Regions from separate parts of the Homo sapiens genome. Here region 1 is linked to region 2. The links are contacts of gene promoters, found by promoter capture Hi-C in blood cells and fetal thymus (Javierre and others, 2016). All regions are on one chromosome and are shown on one strand. The core of a region is centred on a gene start or on the middle of the fragment in contact, and the rest is flanking DNA. Distances in the headings are between cores, read along the strand shown.

What was found. The method cuts DNA at HindIII sites, captures the fragments that hold promoters and counts their contacts. A CHiCAGO score of 5 or more calls a contact.
Region 1: a fragment that was not itself captured here is called in contact with the fragment with the promoter of TGM6 in region 2 in 1 of 17 cell types (M1 macrophages); the score reaches 5.4 in M1 macrophages.

Annotation. Positions count from the first base shown.
Region 1 is chr20:1,969,297-1,973,519 of GRCh38, forward strand. All of the region lies in intron 3 of PDYN-AS1 (PDYN antisense RNA 1), which reads left to right. Among named protein-coding and RNA genes, the nearest start is that of PDYN, 23 kb to the right of the region's middle. The HindIII fragment of the contact is 154 bases long and covers 2,765-2,918 here.
Region 2 is chr20:2,378,327-2,382,200 of GRCh38, forward strand. It overlaps TGM6 (transglutaminase 6), which reads left to right and starts at 2,575. Exons shown (of 13, transcript NM_198994.3): 1 at 2,575-2,649. The coding sequence starts at 2,643. The HindIII fragment of the contact is 23,923 bases long and covers 1-3,874 here.

The DNA of each region.
Region 1 (4,223 bases), core at 1,592-4,091, 410 kb before region 2:
CTCCCCGCCTTGCCCTCCTCCTGCCCAGGAGGTTAAAGCTGGCTTCCTTTGCTAATCTCCTTATTGCTGAATTGAATTCTGAAGCTGTTTCTTGCCCTTGCTGTCTGCTCAGGCTGCAATTCAGATAGATACTTAGAGGCTTCCTTTTGGATTCTGCATCTCTCCCTTTCTGGGCTCTGAGCTGTAACATCCCTTAAGTCAAGTTAGATACAGAATGAGAGGCTTCTTCTTCTCCAAGCCTCTGTTTTCTTATCTGCAAGACGGAGAGAGCTTACCAACCTAACAGGGTTGTTGGGAGGTCTCTGAGACTCTGTCTACAAACGCCTTGCAGTTCTCAGCCCCCTCACTCCCGCCAAGGCCCCAAATGTCTTCCTGGAACATTGGCAACAAAATCTTAGACGCTCACTGTGGCCTTAGGGCCTGCCCGGCTCTCACCTCCTGCAGTCCTCACCAGCCTCACTGACCTTCTGAGGGTCCTTGGGCCAGCAGTGCTCCCACCTCTGGGCCCTTGCTCTTGCTCTTCTCTCTGCCTGGGGTGCCCTCCCCTCAGCTCTTTCATGGCCGCTCCTTCCCCATTCTTCAGGTCTTAGTTTATTTTATTTTATTTATGTATTTATTTTGAGACAGAGTCTCGCTCTGTCACCCAGGCTGGAGTGCAGCAGCGCGATCTTGGCTCGCTGCAACCTCTGCCTCCCGGGTTCAAACAGTTCTTCTGCCTCAGCCTCCCAAGTAGCTGGGAGCCTGCTACCACCACGCGCAGCTAATTTTTTGTACTTTTAGCAGAGATGGGGTTTCACCGTGTTAGCCGGGATGGTCTTGATCTCCTGACCTCGTGACCCGCCCACATCGGCCTCCCAAAGTGTTAACATTACAGGCATGAGCCACGGCACCCGGCTAGGTCTTATTTTAAATGTCGTCTCCCCAGAGTTTTCCCTGACTATATCATCAGAAGAGCAGCCAATCCCATCAACAGTAATAATAGCATCACAATGAAATTATAACTTTAATAAATAGTTCTTAGCTGAAAACTTATGTCCACACAAAAACCCACACATGAATGTTTATAGCAGCATGCTTCATAATTGCCCAAACTTGGAAGCAACCAAGATGTCCTTCAGGAGGTGAATGGATGAACTGTGCAACGTCCCTCAACAGAATATTATTCAGCGCTAAAAAGAAATGAGCTATGAAGCCACAAAAAGACATGGAGGAACTTAAATTCATATTGCTAAGTGAAAGAAGCCAATCTGAAAATGCTACACACTACGTGACTCCAACTATAAGACATCGTGGAAAACGCAAAACTACGAGAGTACAAAGATCAGTGGTTTCCAAGGGTTTTGAGAAGGAGGGATGAATAGGCAAAACACAGAGGATTTTTAGGACAGTGGGACTTTTATTTATATATTAGATATTATATATAAAAGCATATTTATATATTATATATTAGTGGGACTAGTATTTTAATATTATTCTCTGTGTTACTGTAAAGGTAGATACATGTCATTACGGGTTTTTCTCAAAACCCATAGAATATACGGGACAAAGAGTGAACTCCAGTAACAGTGCATCAATATTGGCTCATCAATTGTAACAAATGTTTCACACTAATGCGAGATGTTAATAACAAGGAAAACTGCAGGTGTTGGGGGGAGGTGAAGAGATGTACGGGGATTCGCTGAACTTTCATTCGAGTTTTCTGTAAACACAGAACTAAAAAATGGGCCGGGTGCAGTGGCTCACGCCTGTGAGCACTTTGGGAGGCTGAGGCGGGTGGATCACCTGAAGTCAGGAGTTCAAGACCAGCCTGGCCAACATGGTGAAACCCCATCTCTACTAAAAATACAAAATTAGCCGGGCATGGTGGCTTGCACCTATAATCCCAACTACTTGGGAGGCTGAGGTAGAAGAATCGCTTGAACCTGGGAGGAGGAGGTTGCAGTGAGCCAAGATCATGCCAATGCACTCTAGGCTGAGTGACAGAGTGAGAGTCAGTCTCGAAAAAAAAATGAAGTCTTTTGTTTTATTATTTTATTTTAATTTTATTTTTTTGAGACAGAGTCTCACTCTTGTCACCCAGGCTGGAGTGCAGTGGCACGATCTCGGCTCACTCCAACCTCTGCCTCTTGGATTCAAGCAATTCTCCTGCCTCAGCCTCCCAAGTAGCTGGGATTACAGGCGCCCGCCACCACCCCCGGGTAAATTTTTGTACTTTTAGTAGAGATGGGGTTTCACCATGTTGGCCAGGCTGGTTTCGAACTCCTGACCTCAAGTGATCTGCCCACCTCAGCCTCCCAAAGTGCTGGGATAACAGGCGTGAGCCACTGCGCCTGGCCTATTAATTAAAAAAAAAAAAATTAAAGCTCTTACAGCCCTTAATGTATATACACTTACAGTGGGGTTTTCTTTGCTTATTCCTGTCTCATCTCCTAGAGAGTGACTTGGTGCATCAATTGATAGCCCAGGGCTTGGCGCCTGGGCAGCTTTTATTATGTGGTAAGGGGGTATAACTGTGCCACTCTTATGCTTAAAATGCAGGAGTAAATTCCAAGCCCATTACCGTGCTGCATAAAGGCTGTCCTGATCTGAGGCTACCTTAGCTGTTAACACATACAACTCCCTTGGGTGATGTTGGGTGCAGACCTGCCACCTGGGACCCCAGAGGGAGGAAGTTTTCAATGCTCTTTAAAGCCTTCCAATTCTATTAAAGATAAAGGCTCCATCTGAGACTAGTAAGTCTTTAACACCCCTCTAATGCTTGCAAAGCTTCCTTTTGTCCTGTCCCTACCAGACTTCAGACTTCGGCTTAGAGCTGGTTCCTCATGGTATTGTTCCTTGAATTGTTGCTTGAATTCATTGTTATGCCACTTCTATTAATGGAATATAATACTGGTTTTCCATTCATGGTAATAACATTAAGCTTCCTTCTTAAATCAGCTCATTCATGGTTTTAAAAAAGTAAGTCGAATTAAAGAAAAATGTTAAAAGATAGTGTCGGCTGTGACAGATTGCATGTGGATGTCTGAAGTTTAAGAAACACGACATGAATTCTAAGAGTCTTTGGAGCAATGACGTGATGATTTGGTTTTCAAGCTGAAATATATTTATCACAGGGTTATTTATGATGCAATAATAATAATAATAACAATGAAAGCAACTCAAATGTTTATCCCATAGGAAGGGTGACCATATAATTTTTCATCCAGAACTCTTCCAAAAGTGAATGAGGTGCTATTAATAATGACACCAGAGGAAAGGCACAACCTTGGAACATTCTAGGCAAACTACCATGTTCATTAGGAAATGCTGAAGTAAACCATGGTATATACAGTTTGTAAACTATTGTGATTATGCAGATTTATAATTGACACTTATAATGATTGCATAAAAATGCTTAAGACATTATAATGTTAAACAAGAAAGGCATATCATCCAGTGTTCGGAGACACACCGAAGAACCACCCTGGGAGAATATATGTTAAAATATTAATCATAGCTAACTCTGAGAGGTGAGATCAAGGATGATATTTATTTTCTTTGTTGGAGACGTATGTATAAATGCGTATACCTCAGCTTGTTCTAGAAAACTCTTATTCGACACACCTGACCATGCCACCTCTCTTGAACTTCTCCACATCCTTCTTTTGTTCCTGAGACAGAGTCCACACATCATGACCACGGCCTAGAGGTCTTGTGTGATCAAGCTCCCTGCTGTGTCTCTGCCCAGCCACCAAAGCCCTCCCTGCGCTCACAGCTACTCACACCAGCTCTGTCCTGCCCCTCCGCAGGTCTCAGTCACCTCCTCAGGAATCCTCAGCCCTTGCCAGGCCAGGTCTCTGCTCCTGACACCTGCATCAACCTTTGCTGTTCAGTCTTCCCAAAGTAACTCTTTTTATTTTCCATAGTTATTTGCTCTGCGAGGTCTTTCCTGCTGAACGCAAACTCCTTGAGCACAGAGGTCATGCGCTCATCTCCAATTTATCCCCATTAATGCGTTAATCCTTACTGTGCCTTGGCCCGGGCAGGGGCTCCATAAATGATCTTATCTGAACCTCTGACTGTTGATCAATTTCATGGGAAACTTCTTGATGCATTTCTGGGTTTTACCAATGTTCCTAAATGGACAACAGATACTGTTGCAATCTGTAAAATCAGTGAGGACCTTGAATAGCAACATTCCCCAGTGGATTAAAATACAATTCGATTTGCCAAACTTTGATTTA
Region 2 (3,874 bases), core at 1,325-3,824:
TTAATAATGACAGTGCATAGCTATATTCTATGATTTGAAAAGCTGTCATCTCAGCACTTTGGGAGGCCAAGGCGGGTGGATCACGAGGTCAGGAGATTGAGACCATCCTGGCCATGGTGAAACTCCATCTCTACTAAAAGTAAATTAAAAAAAAAAATTAGCTGAGCATGGTGGCGGGTGCCTGTAGTCCCAGCTACTTGGGAGGCTGAAGCAGAAGCAAGGTGAGAACCCGGGAGGTGGAGCTTGCAGTGAGCTGAGATCGAGCCACTGCACTCCAGCCTGGGCAACAGAACAAGACTCCGTCTCAAAAAAAGAAAAGAAAAGAGAGCACCATGTTTGGTCAAGCAAAAAGGACGGGTTACAAAACAGCTTCTGTGTATGATGCGATTCATGTAAATTTGTTGCCATGTGTATACAGCCGTATGCATGTATACTTTCTTCACTCCCTGTATTGCTTGAATTTTGTACCTGAGTATGTATTATCTCTATAGCCAGAAGAACAATTAAATTGCTTTTAAAGCATCTGATTATTCCCCAGGCACAGATTTTAATTTGTGAAGCACCCACTTTATGCCTGGCATTGGGGTACCCTGAGCCGCCCAAGGCTTTGGCTCCCGTCTGTCATCTCTAGCCTGATCATCAGAATCAGAGAATGTTGGAACTGGTAACACTTAGTTCACACCCGTATTTTACAGATGAAGGCAATAAGGCCCAGAGAAGGTAAGTGACCTGCTGAAGGTCACACAGCCAGTTTGGCCCAGAGATAACAGAACCCAGGACTCTACTGCCAGGCTATGATGCTCACTTCTAAACTGAGTATGGGCCGGGTGCAGTGGCTCTCACTTGTAATCTCGCACTTTGGGAGGCTGAGGTGGGCAGATCACCTGAGGTCAGGAGTTTGAGACCAGCCTGGCCAACATGGCGAAACTGTCTCTACTTAAAATACACAAAAAATTAGCCGGGCATGGTGGCACACGCCTGTAGTCCCAGCTACTCAGGAGGCTGAGGCAGGAGAATTGCTTGAACCCGGGAAGTAGAGGTTGCACCGAGCTGAGATCGTGCCGCTGCACTTCACCCTAGGTGACAGAGCGAGACCCTGTCTCAAAAAAAAAAAACGAGGAGTATGAATTATTATTTGGGGTCTCGAGCAGTGGGGCAGGCAGTGATTTTGATGCCCTGTCTTCTGGGAGCTCCCGTCCAAGCAAGCCCAGGATGAAAGATAAAAGGGCCCTGAATAAGACCATCATTAGTGGGGAGGAGCCTGACCCTGCATAGGCAGAAAAGCAGCTTCAGCAGGGCCCAGGGTCTACAGGGCAGCAGCCTGCAGGGTGTTGAGGAAGGAGCTGCCCTGGGCTGCTGCCAGATGTCAGTAATTATAAGGCTATGTGGGTCTGCAGACAGCTCATTAAAGACGCTTGATCTGCGTGAAACCAGGAAGCAGAACTCAGCCTCTTTGCCACTTTCTGTAAGAAATCCAACCACATCAAACACTTTGGGGTTTTTATGCAGTTTCCTGAATGTTGGGGTGATCCCAGGGAGCGGCCTCATCCTACTGTGCTCAGCACACGGTTGTCTCCTTACCCTTCCTTGTCTCTTTCCCTCGATTCTACCCCCTCCCACTTCCCCTTCCTCACTGGCCCAGGCCACATCCAGCCTTCGATAGCCCCAAGTCATCCATCAAAGCATTTCTCCGGCAAAAAGAAACCTACCCCACCGGCTTCCATGAAAATAAAATCCCCTCTATTTCATTAACAAAAGACCTCAGATGCCTTGAATTCCAGCACCTTCAAGCCCAGAATCTTAGACTTTGAGCTGGAATGGCCCTGAAGAATAATTGAGTCCAATCCCTTTAGTTTGTAGGTAGAAACACCAGGGTTCCAGGAGGGGAGAGGTCTTGTCCAAGGTCACGGGACACCCATGGCCACCAGGCCTCTAAGCTCCTGGCTGGAGGCCACTCACAAAGTCAGGGCAGATGGGCCTAGCTTCTGAGTCAGAACCAGCTCTCCCCTTTTTCTTATCTACCTCCTCTCAAGAGTCTAGTGTCCACCAAGGAAGTCTAGTGGCCCTGAAGGAGGATCATGGACCTCTGCCTCTTTAGATGCCTGCAGAACAGAGTGGAGCTGTGGGCCCAGGAGTCTTCTGCTCTCACCCAGGAGGGGAGAGGGAGCCACAGACTGACCCGGCACTGCAGCGTGCAACCATGTACTTCGGGGTCCTGGCGCTGAGCCTGTTTTTTCTCATTTGAGGGTTGTTGTGAGGGCTAAGAATGGCCAACCATAAATCCGAGTTCCCTCAGTCTTCTCTCTTTCCCCGTTCTTTTTCTTGCCAGGCTTGTGACCTTTCTGAGCCTCAGTTTCTCCACAGTCCCATTCGCAACTCCGTGTTTCCAAGGTCTCTTGGCAGGAGCCACTCCCACAGTGAACCCCTCTAGGTGCAATTACAGGATGATTTTGTGTCTCGTGGGTGTCGCTGCTAGGGTGGAGGGCCACGCCTCCTCTTTTGAATTCTGACTTTCCTGCCTAGGAGTGTCCCAAGGTTTTCCTTGTTAAAATTGGTCTGGCTGGCTGCTGTGACGCGCCACACTGTCCTGACGGTGCACACACTGCTGTGTGGAGGAACAGAGGAGTCCAGCTGGCCTTCACATGGCAGGTAAGTGGGCAGAGCCTGGGGCCTTGGGACACCAGGGCTCATGAGGGGGGCTTCAAGAAACACGGGTCTGTGGGATGACGTTTGATCATCGATTGTTAGGATTTTACAGCTGGATAGTCCACCATGAACACATGAACTCTTCGTGTGGATTCATGAGGCCCAGGATGAAAAAGCCAGCTTTAAGCCACCCAGCAAGGCCATGGCCCAGGCTGGCTCAGGCGCTGTCTCCTGGGCTGGGGCCAGGTCTCACCCCTGTGCCTCGGAGGACTGAAGGAGGCAGGCACAGGAAGGCAGGGGCAGAAAAAAGAAAATCTCCTTGCACCCCATGCACATTCCATGGATCCAGAGACGTTTCTGGGCATAGTTGGGAATTGTGGCCTGCGTGGGAAGGAGTGAGAGGCCCCCACCGGCTGCATCCTCGCCTGATTCCCACCCCAAGCACTTGAGGGCAAGAGCAGCTCTGGCTCAAGTGAAAACAGCTATATGACCTTGAGCAAGAAAATTTGCCCTTGGTACCTCTGTTTTCTGATCTGTGTAATGGGGATTATAATGCAAATTATCTCACAGCCTTGCTGTGAGGAGTTGGTGAGACCACGTGTGCTGTTCTCCCACCACACATCTCAAGTGGGGACTTGTAAACAGTAGACTCAGAAAATGTGGGTCGGGCACAGTGGCTCACGCCTCTAATCCCAGCATTTTGGGAGGCTGAAGGGGGTGGAATTCTTGAGCTCAGGAGTTTGAGACCAGCCTGGGCAATGTGGCAAAACCCCGTCTCTACAAAAAAATACAACAATTAGCTAGGCATGGTGGGGAACACCCAAAGTCCCAGCTACTTGGGAGGCTGAGGTGAGAGGATCGCTTGAGCTTAGGAGGTAGAGGCTACAGTGAGCCAAGATGGTGCCACTGCACTGCAGGCTGGGCAACAGAGTGAGACCCTGTCTCAAAAAAAAAAGAAAGTAAGATAATGTGTCCCCCACGACCTCAATATAGTGAGCAGCAAACTCCCTCTGCAAGAACTTGTCTTAGATGCTGGGGCCCGGTAATGAGCAAGTCAGCAGAACCAGGGGTCCTACACTCACAGGTATTCAAGGGGTGTTTCTGAGTCTGTGTCTGCCAGTTTTAATTGTTCAGCATTATGTGACAGTTTTATGAATCAAATATTTTTTTAACTTTCAAAGGCAGATATTTGAATTTCCTCATCATAGTCTAGCTTCCTCTTCATATT